Linked DNA regions of Homo sapiens: regions 1, 2 and 3 are each linked to region 4. The links are contacts of gene promoters, found by promoter capture Hi-C in blood cells and fetal thymus (Javierre and others, 2016). All regions are on one chromosome and are shown on one strand. Each heading gives the region's core, a stretch centred on a gene start or on the middle of the fragment in contact. The rest is flanking DNA. Distances are from core to core; before and after follow the strand shown. Region 1 overlaps MAP4K3 (mitogen-activated protein kinase kinase kinase kinase 3). Region 2 overlaps MAP4K3 (mitogen-activated protein kinase kinase kinase kinase 3). Region 3 overlaps MAP4K3 (mitogen-activated protein kinase kinase kinase kinase 3). Region 4 holds the start of TMEM178A (transmembrane protein 178A).

What was found. Contacts are between HindIII fragments. The CHiCAGO score rates a contact against its expected background, and 5 or more counts as called.
Region 1: a fragment that was not itself captured here is called in contact with the fragment with the promoter of TMEM178A in region 4 in 1 of 17 cell types (total B cells); the score reaches 6.3 in total B cells.
Region 2: a fragment that was not itself captured here is called in contact with the fragment with the promoter of TMEM178A in region 4 in 2 of 17 cell types (total B cells and erythroblasts); the score reaches 6.1 in total B cells.
Region 3: a fragment that was not itself captured here is called in contact with the fragment with the promoter of TMEM178A in region 4 in 1 of 17 cell types (total B cells); the score reaches 5.9 in total B cells.

Annotation. Positions count from the first base shown.
Region 1 is chr2:39,356,956-39,360,525 of GRCh38, forward strand. All of the region lies in intron 2 of MAP4K3 (mitogen-activated protein kinase kinase kinase kinase 3), which reads right to left. Among named protein-coding and RNA genes, the nearest start is that of MAP4K3, 79 kb to the right of the region's middle. The HindIII fragment of the contact is 6,021 bases long and covers 1-3,570 here.
Region 2 is chr2:39,335,844-39,339,465 of GRCh38, forward strand. MAP4K3 (mitogen-activated protein kinase kinase kinase kinase 3) reads right to left here. Exons shown (of 34, transcript NM_003618.4): 5 at 1,683-1,738; 6 at 1,077-1,124. Among named protein-coding and RNA genes, the nearest start is that of CDKL4, 94 kb to the left of the region's middle. The HindIII fragment of the contact is 1,651 bases long and covers 793-2,443 here.
Region 3 is chr2:39,319,141-39,322,732 of GRCh38, forward strand. The region is part of intron 12 of MAP4K3 (mitogen-activated protein kinase kinase kinase kinase 3); the gene reads right to left. Among named protein-coding and RNA genes, the nearest start is that of CDKL4, 77 kb to the left of the region's middle. RefSeq lists an enhancer at 1,436-2,355. The HindIII fragment of the contact is 8,773 bases long and covers 1-3,592 here.
Region 4 is chr2:39,664,183-39,667,711 of GRCh38, forward strand. TMEM178A (transmembrane protein 178A) reads left to right here and starts at 1,735. Exons shown (of 4, transcript NM_152390.3): 1 at 1,735-2,192. The coding sequence starts at 1,793. The HindIII fragment of the contact is 3,333 bases long and covers 1-3,213 here.

The DNA of each region.
Region 1 (3,570 bases), core at 399-2,898, 310 kb before region 4:
GAGCTGAGAGGCCTACACTCAAGCAGTACTGGATTACCAGATGGCCCACATTCACAGGCTTATCCTGTATTTGAGTGCCTTGTTCCAACTGTGTTATAATGCAGAATGGGACTGTATTTTAGCCTGGTCAGACTATTAGCAAATAATCTCTCTCCTACTGCCTCCTTGTCCAAATTCTCTAAAATAAGATCTGGCAATCCTATAGCAGTGTCACATGCTGTGGCTCCTGAATGAACACTTGTCATGGAGAGAAACAGAACTGCAGTGAATGCAAATGTGGTGAACCAGAGACTATGCAGAAAGAGAACAAATGGAAGTGCTTACTCTGAAAGAAAAGTAGCTTTGTATTACTAATTCAGCTTTTAAAGTATTATATACTATGAATAGCCTGATTAAATGTAAATTAGTAGCAAAGTAAAAAACAGAAGGCTTCCCCAATTACTGCTCAAATCATAAGTATAAGGTCATTGTGGTAAGCCCTGACATTTCTGGCCTTGGCATTTTGCTACTGCAAATGTAATTGAGACTTGAAACAGCCCAACCATGAACCATGTGAACCCAATATCAAAATCCACCTTACTGTCCCAGTTACAAGGAAAGAAATAATGGAGAAGAGACAGTTGTTATGTTGGGTTCTTAATTTCTGCGTTGATATGAGCACAAAATCACAAATCTCCAAAGACATAATTTTTAGGCTTTCAAAAATTTGGAAGATTATTGAACTATGATCTTATCAATTTACTTCCCACCATTGAGGATTCCTGATTTTCTGTATATTAGAAGAAAACAAAATTAGGAATAATAAAGCCAAAATAAGACTAACACCAATTTTTATAGGTATACTAGGTACTTTGGAAGTTCTGGACTTTTAGTTTCTCACTCAACCCAAAATTATACTTTTAGTCAATCTAGTGAAAGAGTTGCATACAGTAAAAGTTGATCTAGTCAGAGTGAACCCAAGACTTTAGTCTGATGGTTGGAAGACAAAAGCTCTCTTTCTGGGGGTAGCCCTGAGAGTTATTAGTAGTCATGATACAACCTCAAAGGGAGTCAGCCTTAGGATAAAGTTAACATGTGGAAAGCATTGAGGAGAAACAGGTAAAAGGAAGCATACTGAGCTATTACAGCAAGCCTCACCTGTCTCTGTAATTTTCAGATATACCTGTACATGACCAATAAACTCTGTGTATTGTTTAAGCCACTTCAGCTGGGGTTTCTGTTACAGATAACTATAAGCATCATAACTTCTACAGTGATCTTTGTATTGAGCACTTTTATTATATTACACTGATGTCTGCATGTCTTTGCCTTCACTAGAATACAAAGTCCTCTAGGATAGCATTATGTCTTCATCATCTTTGTACCCCTAGTACCAAAGATGTGATCAATAAAGAACTGTTGACTGAATCAATCTACAGCACCACATAATTCCTTTCTATGATGACTGTAAATCCAGAATATCAGCTTTTGGTTTAATTTCATCCAATTGTTAGCATGTTTTATATAATTAATTGCCTACATATTATTCCTTTTATTTCTAATAGAATGTATTAGTGGCTTTAGGTTTTCAACTGCAGCCTTCCCATGAAATACTACTGATCCAAAGTGTATCATTTTGTACTATTAAGTCAACTCTATGTGATTGTGAGAATGGTCAAATTAAATTCAACATTTTTGTGGGAAAAAAATTCAAAGAAAAATTCCACATACTCGATTTTTAAAGGTAAATAAAAAATGTAGATTTGGGTAAGAAAAAAGTAGAGTTTAATACATTAATAATCCAAAGGATTTAAAGAACTTTGTTCAAGGCTCATGAGAAATACATTATAAAGATAGGCCTCCTATCACGAGTAGAGCAGCAGAGGGTAACTGCCCCCATGATTCAATTACCTCCCACTGGGTCCTCCCACAACCCATGGGGATTATGGGAACTACAATTCAAGATGAGACATGCGTGGTGACACAACCAAACTACATCATTCCACTCCTGGCCCCTCCCAAATCTCATGTCCTCACATTTCAAGTCACAATCATGTCTTTCCAACAGTCCCCCAAAGTCTTAGTTCACTCCAGCATCAACCCAAAAGTCCAAGTCCAAAGTCTCATCTGAGACAAGGCAAGTCCCTTCTACCTATGAGCCTGTAAAATCAAAAGCAAGTGAGTTACTCTCTAGATACAGTGGTGGTACAGGCATTGGGTAAATACAGCTGTTCCAATGGGAGAAACTGGCCAAAACAAAGGGACTACAGGCCCCTTGCAAGTCTGAAATCCAACAGGATAGTCATTAAATCTTAAAGTTTAATGACTACCAACAGGGTAGTCATTAAATCTTAAAGTTCCAAAATGACCTCTTTTGACTCCATGTCTCACATCCAGGTCATGCTGATAACAAGAGGTGGACTCCCATGGCCTTGGGCAGCTCCAACCCTGTAGCTTTGCAGGGTACAGCTCCCCTCCTGGCTGCTTTCACAGGCTGGTATTAAGTGTCTCCAGCTTTTCCAGGCACACAGTGCAAGCTGTCAGTGGATCTACCATTCTGAGATCCAGAGGACAGTGACCACCTTCTCACAGTTCCACTAGGCAGTGCTGCAGTGGGAACTCTGTGTGGGGGCTCCAACCCCATGTTTCCCTTCTGCACTGCCCTAGCAGAACCACGAGGGCTCCACCCTTGCAGCAAACTTCTGTCTGGACATCCAGGTATTTCCATATATCCTTGGAAATCTAGCCAGAGGTTCTCAAACCTCAGTTCTTGGTTTCTGTGCACCTGTGAGCTCAATACCACGTGGAAGCTGCCAGGCTTGGGGCTTGCACCCTCTGAGGCAATGGCCTGAGCTATACGTTGGCCCCTTTTAGCCACGGCTGGAGCGGCTAGGATGCAGAGCACCAAGTCCCTAGGCTGCACACAGCAGGGGGAGCCCTGGGCCTGGCCCACAGTACCATTTTTTCCTCCTAAGCCTCCAGGGCTGTGATGGGAGGGGTTGCTGCAAAAGTCTCTGAAATGCCCTGGAGACATGTTCCCCTTGTCTTAGTGATTAACATTTGGCTCCTTGTTACTTATGTAAATTTCTGCAGCAGGTTTGAATTTCTCCTGAGGAAAATGAGGTTTTCTTTTCTATCGCATTGTTGGGCTGCAAATTTTCCAAACTTTTATGCTCTGCTTCCTCTTGAACGCTTGGCTCCTTAGAAATTTCTTCCACCAGATACCCTAATCATCTCTCTCAAGTTCAAAGCTCCATAGATCTCTAGGGCAGGGGCAAAATGCCGCCACTCTCTTTGCTAAAGCCTAACAAGAGTCACTTCTGCTCTAGTTCCCAACAGGTTCCTCATCTCCATCTGACAGCACCTCAGTCTGGACTTTATTGTCCATATCACTATCAGCATTTTGATCAAAGCCATTCAACATGTTTCTAGAAAGTTCCAAATGTTCCCACATCTTTCTGTCTTCTGAGCCCTACAAGTCTCTCGGAACTTCCAAACTTTTCCACATTTTCTTTTCTTCTTCTGAGCCCTCCAAACTGTTCCAACCTCTGCCTGTTACCCAATTCCAAAGTTGCTTCCAGATTTTCAGGT
Region 2 (3,622 bases), core at 368-2,867, 330 kb before region 4:
TGCGCATAAGGGCATTTTCTCAGAAGACAGTTCATAGTTTATCATCAGAAACCCAGAGGACAGTAAGATTTGCCCCAGCCTCTATCCTCAAAAAAGGTTAAAAATCTTTATGTTAGAGAAAATGTTAGAAAACAAAAGGGGAAGAGAGAAATATGAGGAAGGATGAACAAAGAAGGCACAAGAAAAATAAGTGAAAGAAAAAAAATCTAAACTGGGGAGATGGCAGTATCTTTAGAAATATGCTAAGGATTCCTACCAGAGCACATGCTGTACCACTGGGCTAACCCCAGCACATTCAGAGCACCTGCTCTCCTTTGCCAGCTAAATAAATAAAAGACTATGAGAAGGCAGGACACAGTGGCTCACGTCTGTAATCCTGGCACTTTTAGGAGGCCGAGGTGGGATGATCACCTGAGGTCAGGAGATCGAGACCAGCCTGGCCAACATGATGAAATCCTGTCTTTACTAAAAATATGAAAATTAGCCAAGCATGGTGGCAGGTGGCTGTAATCCCAGCTACTCGGGAGGCTGAGGCAGGGGAATCACTTGAACCCGGGAGGGGAGGTTGCAGTGAGCCGACATCGTGCCACTGCACTCTAGCCTGGGCAACAGAGCGAGACTCCATCTCAAAAAAAAAAAAAAAAAAAAAAAAAAAAAAGACTATGAGAAAGTGTCAAAGGTCAATTTATCCATTTTGATGCATTACTAAGACTTAGACTTAAGACTGCGAAAGCTCACTGAAATAGTCAAAGCATAAAACTTACTAAAAACTATAACTTGATGAAAGCTATAAGCTTACTCTGCATTTTACTAATCAATAACTACAAAGAAGCTAAAATGAGTTATTAAAACATTAATCTACTGAATGATATACTTTAAAAGGGTGAATTTTATGGTATGTGAATTGTGCCTCAATAAAGCTGCTATAAAAAATTAAACTATTAAAAGTATCACTCATTTTTATTATGGTAACATTTCAGATGCATTTATCAAATAAAACAATTTTGCTCAAAACAATTTGATCAGAGTATTTAAAAATGAAGAGAGGGTTATTATGTTAAAAATATAATGTATACCTTTATATCTCTGTGCATTTTTCCTTTACTGTGAAGATAATATAATCCCTGGAGTTTCAAAAAACAGAAAAATAAACAAGATTTTATCAAAGAGCACTCTTTTGGATTTTATGTAATCAAATGGGTAGTATTCTGTGTATTTTATTTAATCTTTACAGGAGATCTAGTACTAATCATTAACATATTTTAATGAGATATCCTAAAAAAAGATCAAGAAAATGACTAATTTTTCTAAGAAAATTTTCAGTGAATTCTACAAATAGTTTGAAATAACTTTTAAAAAGTATATACCTAATTAGTATCAGAGTGTTTGAATTCCCATGATAGTGCTTAATTTTCAAGCCTTTCTTTGGTATTAAGAGGAAAATATACAATAACAGATGCATAGTGCTTAAATTTTAGGTTATATCATCACATTTATGCTTTAAAGTATTTATTTGTAAATATAATTTGAGTTCATTACACAATTTTCAAATGTATTAAAACTCATTTTAAGAGTTTACCAAACTAAAATATTTAGTTCTTACTTTGCTGAACAGGTAATGCACAGTAAGTAAAGCCTTAGTTTAATGAAAAATGTTATTTTTGAATTAGCACTTGATTTACCTGCAGTGTTTCTCTGCTAACATATGCAATTTGCAGTTCTGACAGAGGTCCAGTTACTGTAAAAGAAGACAATTAATACTCATAAAATTAGTCAACGCATGTTTTTCAATATATAATAAAGTTTTACAAGTTTAAGCAACAGACTTAATATCCCTAAACAATTCTACTGAAATGTAAGCTAGGACTACAGGCATGAATTACTACTGTCCTACTGTGCCTGGCTCCAGTTTTTTTTTTTTTTTTTTTTTTTTTTTTGAGACAGGGTCTCATTATGTCACCCAGGCTGGAGTGTAGTGCAATCACAGCTCACTGCAGCCTCGACCTCCTGGGCTCAAGTGATCCTCCCACCTCAGCCTCTTGAGTGGCTGGGGGCATAGGTGCATGCCACCACACCTGGCTAGTTTATTTTTCATTTTTTGCAGAGATGGGGTCTCATTATCTTGCCCAGGCTGGTATTGAATTTCTGGGCTCAAGCAATCTTCCTGCCTCAGCCTCCTGAAGTGCTGGAATTACAGGTGTGAGCCACTGTGCCCAGCCAATTTTTTGCTTTTTAAAAATCTGATTTGCTCATTGTTGTATCTCCAGTGTGCAGAACAGTGCCTGGCACAGAAAAGCAGCCTGATAAATATTTATGGAATGAATGAATGTCTAAAGTAGTCACTGAAATTAATTATATTCTCATTTTTATATCTCATTCATCAATATCATCTCTTAAACATCAAAAGAAACGATGTCCAATAGGTTTAGCTGGCTTTTATTAAAGCTTTTTAGTTGATATAGAACATGTATTATGACTAGTTTTAAATCAATACTTCTTATAAAAATATTAGCCAGATAGCTATAAAATTAATACATGTTCACTCTAAAGTTCCAATCAATAGAAAAGTTTGGAAATTAAAGGTCTCTTCTTTATCCAAAATGTTACTCAACAGTAAGCAATACCAATAGTTTGGTCTATAACCTACCAGACTATTTTAAACGGACATTTTATAAACTATTTGTATCTCAGAAACTTTACATAAGTGGAATCATACAATTCTGAAACCTACTCTTTTCACTTACGATGAACACCTTTACATCAATATATAGGTCTTAATCTTATAAGTAATATTTCCTGTGTATGCATCTGCTAAGTCCCTCCAGAACTCACGTTGAAACTTAATCTCAAAGAGGCAGGACACTGAGGAGGAGATTAGGTCATGAGTGCTCCTCCCTTGTGAAGGAGATTAAGACTCTTAATAAAAGAGACTTCAAGCAGTGTCTACTCTTTTTTGCCCTTCCATCTCTTCTGCCATGTGAGGACACAGTGTGTGTGCACTCTATGAGAAATGGGTCCTTGCCAGACACCAAACCTGTTGGCACCTTGATCTTGCACTTCCCAGCCTCCAGAAGTGTGAGAAATAAATTTCTGTTGTTTATAAATTACTCAGTCTCAGGCATTTTGTTATAGCAGCACAAACAGAGCATCTGTACACTAAAATAGTTTTCTTTTTCACTATTAAATCACTTTAGAATAAAAAGTGGGAGAGACTATTCTAGAAATTGAATTAAATTCCAAGGATAAAAACCTTGGCTAGATAGTAAACTCACATTTACACAAACTTAACAGATTTGTAAACATGTTTAGTTTGGAGTACTTGTGGTATTTTACAATTATGAAAGAGAGAAATCTATTCCAATTAGATTATTTTAAGGACCGGGTTGGGTTTAAATGTCTATGGATAAACCATGTAACTTATTTCTGTGGCTTCCAAGCCCACACACATTCAGTAAGATAAACCTCCTTGAGATTTCTGTTTCTATAATATGATAAATAAGATAATCTGAAAACCCTGAAAATAACACTTGGAAGTGAAAGACAATTTTTTTTTCAGAAATAACCTTTTCAATTACTAGCTAACTTTACAAACAGTAAGATACTTTCCCAGGAGACAAATGAA
Region 3 (3,592 bases), core at 40-2,539, 350 kb before region 4:
TACAAGCAAATGCCAATACTTTCTGAATGCTGTCAAATTTACTTTTAGGTCTTCTCATCTTTTTCAAGTATATACACTCAATTACATACTTTTTTTTTTTTTAAACCACAACTACAAAGAACCTCCTTACCCCAATTTTCTCCCTAAAAATTGCTAGGAATTTTAGGAAATACGGAAACTAAAACCTTATTGTTTCTTCATTCCACGTACAGTTTATCCTTGAACAAAAGTTTGAACTGCAGAAGTCCACTTCTATGCAGATTACTTGGGGATACAAAACCCATGTATACGGAGGACCAACATTTCATATATGTGGGTTTTGCAGGGCTGACTGTGGGATTTGGGTATGCACGGAGTTTGGTATACTTGAGAGTCCTGGAACCAATCCCCCTTGTGTACGTCAAGGGACAACTATATTTTCAGTGTTTTTAAAGAAAGGTAACTGTTAATGATAGTAAAATCTCAAGTAATATTTATTTTGTCAAACATCTCTTAAAATTCAAAATCAAGAGTCTAAATATTTCTACTATATAAATGTCATATGGTGAGCTATTATTTAATGTAAGAAGAATCCACTAATCTGCTATGCAGTAGATAAGAACCTAGACAAATGAAATTACAAAGATTCACATACCTGATGTGCTCTTAATCCATATGTAACCCTCTCTTGATTGCATTCATTTTTACATGAATCTTAAGGCTAAAGACCATATTTTACCATTTCTAAAATTTATGAAAGCTAGTGTATTCAAACATTTAGATATGGGGGATGGCTATCATTTTTTAAGAGTCTTGATGAGTTTTTAAAAGTCCCCAATTCTTTGACCATTATTTTTATTTTTTAAACTTTGGTCTTTCTGGCATCTTCCTATTGGCAAACTCCTTTCTAGCAATGTCACTTCCTTTGTGACATCTTCTCTGACTTCCCTAACAAAAGTTGGCTGTTTTTTCTTCTCCTGAAATGGTGAACTTCTCAAGATTAGGAAATAATGTTTTAGCTACAGCAGGTCCCCAGTGAATGTTCATCGAGTTAAATATAAATAAATAGTCAAAAATTAAGTATTTCAATAATTCAATAGCTGTTTACACGTTGCAAGTAGCTTTCCCTATTGCAGAGAAGACTGCAATTTAAAAAATCTGCGTCAACTCCTTATATCAAAAGGATAAGACATAAATGCAATGAAATAATGCTAAAGGCATTAACCCATTTATACCTGAGGTTGCAAATTTTTTGTGTGAAAAATCAAACCTTGACGATGGCCTTGAGCAGTAGGATATAAATAACTCCCACAAGCCTAGTTCCAATAATGGAACACTAGGCTAAATGGGTTAATGATTTATGGTACTTTTTCTTGGTCAACACAATTTTTTTTTTTTGGCCCTTTATGTTTTTTTCTTGGAGGAGCAGTCCTCTATTTTCTTTCCTTTTACTTTATTAAAACCATTCTATGTGCACTGCCAACTTCATACAGGAATATTCTGAAGGTGGGTAGAATGGAGATGAGTTCTATTTAATGTTAATTCATGAACATTACTATAACCTTTGGAAGTAAAAGAGGTCTTATTCAAAAAACTTTTGCAGCTCCATACTCACACTAAGGTCTCTCAACCAGCATCTATTTCATGTAATTATTGCAATACCCAATAGCTTCCTCTGTGGGTGAAATGCTACCTTTGAAGCTATTGTATTACCTTTGAAGGAGATACACTCTTAGATCTATCTTTGTGGAAACATAATTCATAAACATTATGCTCTAAGTCTTAGATTCAATAAGGCAAATCAAGAACAAGACTCAAACTAACTACTCACAGTGTAGGTACATCTCAGGGAAAAAATATACAAATTTAAAAGACTGAAATATTAAATACTTGTGATGGTGAAACAGTAGCAAAAGTAATTTTGAAAATTAGGTATTTAAATTTTACATGTGCAACCTGCTTTTTAGTTTACAAAGTGTTTTGATGCACCTTAGCATTATATCCTTAAACTCGTGAAACAAGCATTATTCTTCATTTCTGTGGGGAAAAGAAAGAGAGATCAGATTGTTACTGTGTCTGTGTAGAAAGAAGTAGACATAGGAGACTCCATTTTGTTCTATACTAAAAAATTCTTCTGCCTTGACATTCTGTTAATCTATGATCTTATTACCCCCCAACCCCGTGCTCTCTGAAACATGTGCTGTGTCAAACTCAGGGTTAAATGGATTAAGGGTTGTGCAAGATGTGCTTTGTTAAACAGATGCTTGAAGGCAGCATGCTCCTTAAGAGTCATCACCACTCCCTAATCTCAAGTACCCAGGGACACAAACACTACGGAAGGCCGCAGGGACCTCCGCCTAGGAAAGCCAGGTATTGTCCAAGGTTTCTCCCCATGTGATAGTCTGAAATATGGCCTCGTGGGAAGGGGAAGACCTGACCGTCCCCCAGCCCGACACCCATAAAGGGTCTGTAATGAGGAGGATTAGTATAAGAGGAAGGCATGCCTCTTGCAGTTGAGACAAGAGGAAGGCATCTGTCTCCTGCCCGTCCCTGGGCAATGGAATGTCTCAGTATAAAACCCGATTGTACATTCCATCTACTGAGATAGGGAAAAACCGCCTTAGGGCTGGAGGTGGGACATGCGGGCAACAATACTGGTTTGTAAAGCATTGAGATGTTTATGTGTATGCATATCTAAAAGCACAGCACTTGATTCTTTTACCTTGTCTATGATGCAAAGACCACTGTTCACGTGTTTGTCTGCTGACCCTCTCCCCACTATTGTCTTGTGACCCTGACACATCCCCCTCTCGGGGAAACACCCACAAATGATCAATAAATACTAAGGGAACTCAGAGGCTGGCGGGATCCTCCATATGTTGAACGCTGGTCCCCTGGGTCCCCTTATTTCTTTCTCTATACTTTGTCTCTGTGTCTTTCTTTTCCAAGTCTCTCCTTCCACCTAACGAGAAACACCCACAGGTGTGGAGGGGCAACCCACCCCTTCAATTTCATAGATGAGGATACTGAGACTTAAAATTAAGTGGCAGGGCATTCAGCTAGCTAGCCATAGAGCTAGGAAAAACCCTAGACTTTTGATCTAATATACAGTAGCAAAACCAAACAAAAACAGGTAACATGCAGGTTACTCATACAGACTGTTATTAATGAACATGGATGAAACTCATGATTATTTCTGAGAACAGTTTTACCTTCCCGGCTTAAACAGCACAATAAATTATTAATTTATTAGCATAACAGATTAATAAAATTGTTAAATCTTATAATGCTGTACATAGTAAGTGGGCTTACATATAGGAGACGAAAACTGAATAAAAATCAGAATTAGAATTACACCAGTGTGTAATTACTTCTAAAATAGAAACTACAGGGGAACTCAACATTAAAAAGTCAAACTTTCTTCCACAGTGCATAACCTATAAAAAACTTAAACTAGACTTAGATGTGGTATATGTGTGTGTGTGTGTGTGTGTGTGTATATATGTATATATAGATAAATACACATATATATATATTTTTCTTTTTCTATTTTTTGTTTTTTTTTTTTGAGATGGAGTCTCGCTCTGTTGCCCAGGCTGGAGTGCAGTCGCAT
Region 4 (3,529 bases), core at 485-2,984:
TCAGCAGAAATGGGAATGCGGGTCTGATATAACTGAAAGATTTGCTTAAGTGATCTATCTATGAACTGAACCGCTCAGAATAGGCACACGATCTTCACTGGAAATGTACCCTCTGAAGATGCTAAACACAAACAGCAATGAAAATAAATCCCAGCAAGAGCCTTATACCACCTTTACAGATGTCATCCTAGAGGAAGGATATAAAGCATATTAATACCAATTGATGTAGGGCACTAATTAATAAGTCCCATTAAATCATGGAGTAATGACATTTAGCATGTAATGAATGCCTCATAATTTCTTCATCATTAATATTTCATAGCATAAGAACACAAGCATTTTCATCCCTGGGCCAGTGCAGCATGGTTTTCTGTCTCTGACATGACCACAAGGGCATTGAGTGGCACGAGTGTATTGCACCTCTGTGGTATAGACTGACTATACCGCACAAGTGATTAACTCTTAGCACCCCGGGTCCTAGCGTTTCCTCATTTTAGAAAATGTGAATCTGCCTGCCATTCTTGGAAGTAACCTCTGTGACTGGAAGATGGAAGAACTGCCCCAGGCTCAGGTGTTGACTTTGGTGTGTAGCATTGCTTTGCTGTTGACCCCCACCCCCCAGCCCAAGAAGGAAACCTGCACAGGAGAAAATCATTACTTTGATTTATTACTGGGGGCTTGCTGTATGCAAAGGCAATAATCACCTCATGGAGCAGGTGCCACTGCCAGGGTTCATTGATTCCAGGCTCTTCTAGAAATTCCAGGAGGCCAGTCAGTCTGGCGGGAGATGGACGTAGTCAACGAAAAAAGAAGTCCATCTCATAGCAGGTTGAAATGAAGTGGGAGAAAAATCTCTGGTCATCGTTCTATCGCTCCACTGACACTCGGTGTCTTTTTCTTTCAGAAGAGGGGCTTGAGCAGAGAGAATGCTTAGAGGCTAAGCGATGGGCAAGTGAGAGGGAAAGAGCCGCGACAGATAGAGCTGGCTGCCTAGGGGTCTCAGAGGCTTCATCCTGCAGGCGGCAGGCGGCAGGACAAAGGGACCTTCGGACTCCAGATCAAGATTCCAAGGAGTTAAACGCTACCACGCAGCCCGACCTGGATGGGATTTGCTCCTGGGTACAAAACGGGACACTGATCAAAATCAACTTGGACAAGTGACAAGAGTGAGTCTTATGTCGGTGGATGTCTTTTAAGGTCGTTGGAGGGAAGAGGACGGGAGGGGTGTGCCGAGGGGTAGGTGGAGAGAGGCACCGAGTCCAGAGCCGGGATATAAATGCACCAGGAGCCGGGGAGCAGAGGAGCAAATGAGTGGGGGAAAGTGTGAGAGGAAGAGTTGGAGAAAAGTCGGGGGAAAGTAGGGACAGGGTTAAGGGGAGAGAGGAGGATGAGGGCGGCGAGGAGAGATTAAAAGGGGAAGGGGGGTCGCTGGAGAGGAGGGCGGACTGTGGATCGGAGGTAGGGAGAGGGGCGAGAGGAGTGCGCGGGGTGGGGGGCGCCGGGGCGAGGAGAGGGGGCTGGGGAAGAGGAGGGGGGCAAGAAAGCGAGAGCGGCGCGGGGGAGGGCTAGGAGCCCGGGGGCCGGGCCGGGGGCGGGCGGGCGGTGGGAGGCGAGATCAGGCCAGGGGAGAGGGAGCGAGCCGGGCCGGGCTCGCAGGGCGAGGAGGCCGTAGGAGGGAGGTGGGGGGCAGGTGGGGGGAAGAGGGAGGGAGCGGGCGGAGAGCTGGGGCCAAGTGCATTGTGTCTGGCGGCGGCGCGCGAGCCCACCGGCGGCTGCGGCGGGGCGGGAAGCCATGGAGCCGCGGGCGCTCGTCACGGCGCTCAGCCTCGGCCTCAGCCTGTGCTCCCTGGGGCTGCTCGTCACGGCCATCTTCACCGACCACTGGTACGAGACCGACCCCCGGCGCCACAAGGAGAGCTGCGAGCGCAGCCGCGCGGGCGCCGACCCCCCGGACCAGAAGAACCGCCTGATGCCGCTGTCGCACCTGCCGCTGCGGGACTCGCCCCCGCTGGGGCGCCGGCTGCTCCCGGGCGGCCCGGGGCGCGCCGACCCCGAGTCCTGGCGCTCGCTCCTGGGGCTCGGCGGGCTGGACGCCGAGTGCGGCCGGCCCCTCTTCGCCACCTACTCGGGCCTCTGGAGGAAGTGCTACTTCCTGGGCATCGACCGGGACATCGACACCCTCATCCTGAAAGGTGAGCGGCGGGCGCACCCCGCGTCCCCGGCGCCCGCGCGTGGAGCGCAGCCCGCGGCTTCCCAGGGGCGCGCCGGTCCCCGCAGCCCCCTCCCAGCCGCGGCCCCGCGCCTGGGCATTCTTGCATCCTTCCCGCCGCCTCCAGTCTTTATCTCTTCCCTTTCTTTCCCCACTGCCTCCCTTCTTCTCCCTCTCCTTGACTCTCTTCTTTCGTCCACATCCTGCGCGTCCTTTCAAGTCCGTGCCGCACCTCCCGCCTCTGTCTCCTTCTTTCCTGCCTTCGCCTCCCATTCCCCGGTTCTCTCTCTCTCCCCGTCCTTCTCTGCCTTTGTACACCTGCCTGACATGTGTGTCTTTTCTTGACGCTGCTCCCCGTGAGGGGGACTAACCGTCAAAGACTCGACTTTTCTCACCCGGGCTCCTTCCTTCAAGTTGTGCTCCTTTTGGAAATACCGTTTGGAAGAAAAGTGGTGCCGACCTCCGAAGAGAGGGAAGGGGCTTTGCCTGTATTGTGCGGATGCTGGTGTCAGACGGAACTGATGTGGTCATCCCAGCCTGGCAGGGCTGATGGGCAGCGAAGGAGGCCCCGGAACCTTCCTTCATACCCCTGAAGTGCAGGGTGTGTGTGGATTAGACTTCAGAGACCAATCGTTGGCTGGTGGAGGCTGGTGGAGGCTGCCCGAGGCAGATAGGACACCTGCTTTCCAACCTTCCTGAGGACCCCATACCCCCACCCTCCTCGCTGTCCAGGCACTGAGGAGAGAAAATGTCCTCGCCCTTTAAACTAGAGCTTTCCAGATTTGGGCACTCACTCTCTGCTTATCACTCTGTCTTCTGTTCGTGGTACCTTGTCAGGTTGTTTTTGTTGTTTGTTTTGTTTGGCACTGAGTTGCAGAGCATCAATTTGTTCTTCTGAAATCTGTGCAACACCTGTCTTCTGTGAATGCTATCAGATAGTTTGATTTTTTTTTTTTTTTTGGTAATCCCATTCACGTAAAAATATTCAGTGTGACAACTTGTGAAGCTTCCTTTAACTTTCAGAACTTGACTCAATGTATTTTTTTCCCCTTTGAGATTAAAAAAAAAAATCAACATCTCTTCTCTTGGACTCATGATGCCAAAAAAGAAAAAGTCCAAAATCAGTACATTTTAATATTTAGTAGCCATGTAGGAAAACAAACAGACGGATTTGTGTTGAGTTACAGCCTGGAATGGAATGACATAGAAAAGAGGGGGTTAATAATGTGTTGGCCTTCAGAGTCTTGCTAGTTGGCGGATTCTTCATTTCTCAAACATGTCAACTTCCTCCTTCCCATGGCTAACTCAGCTGGGGACTGC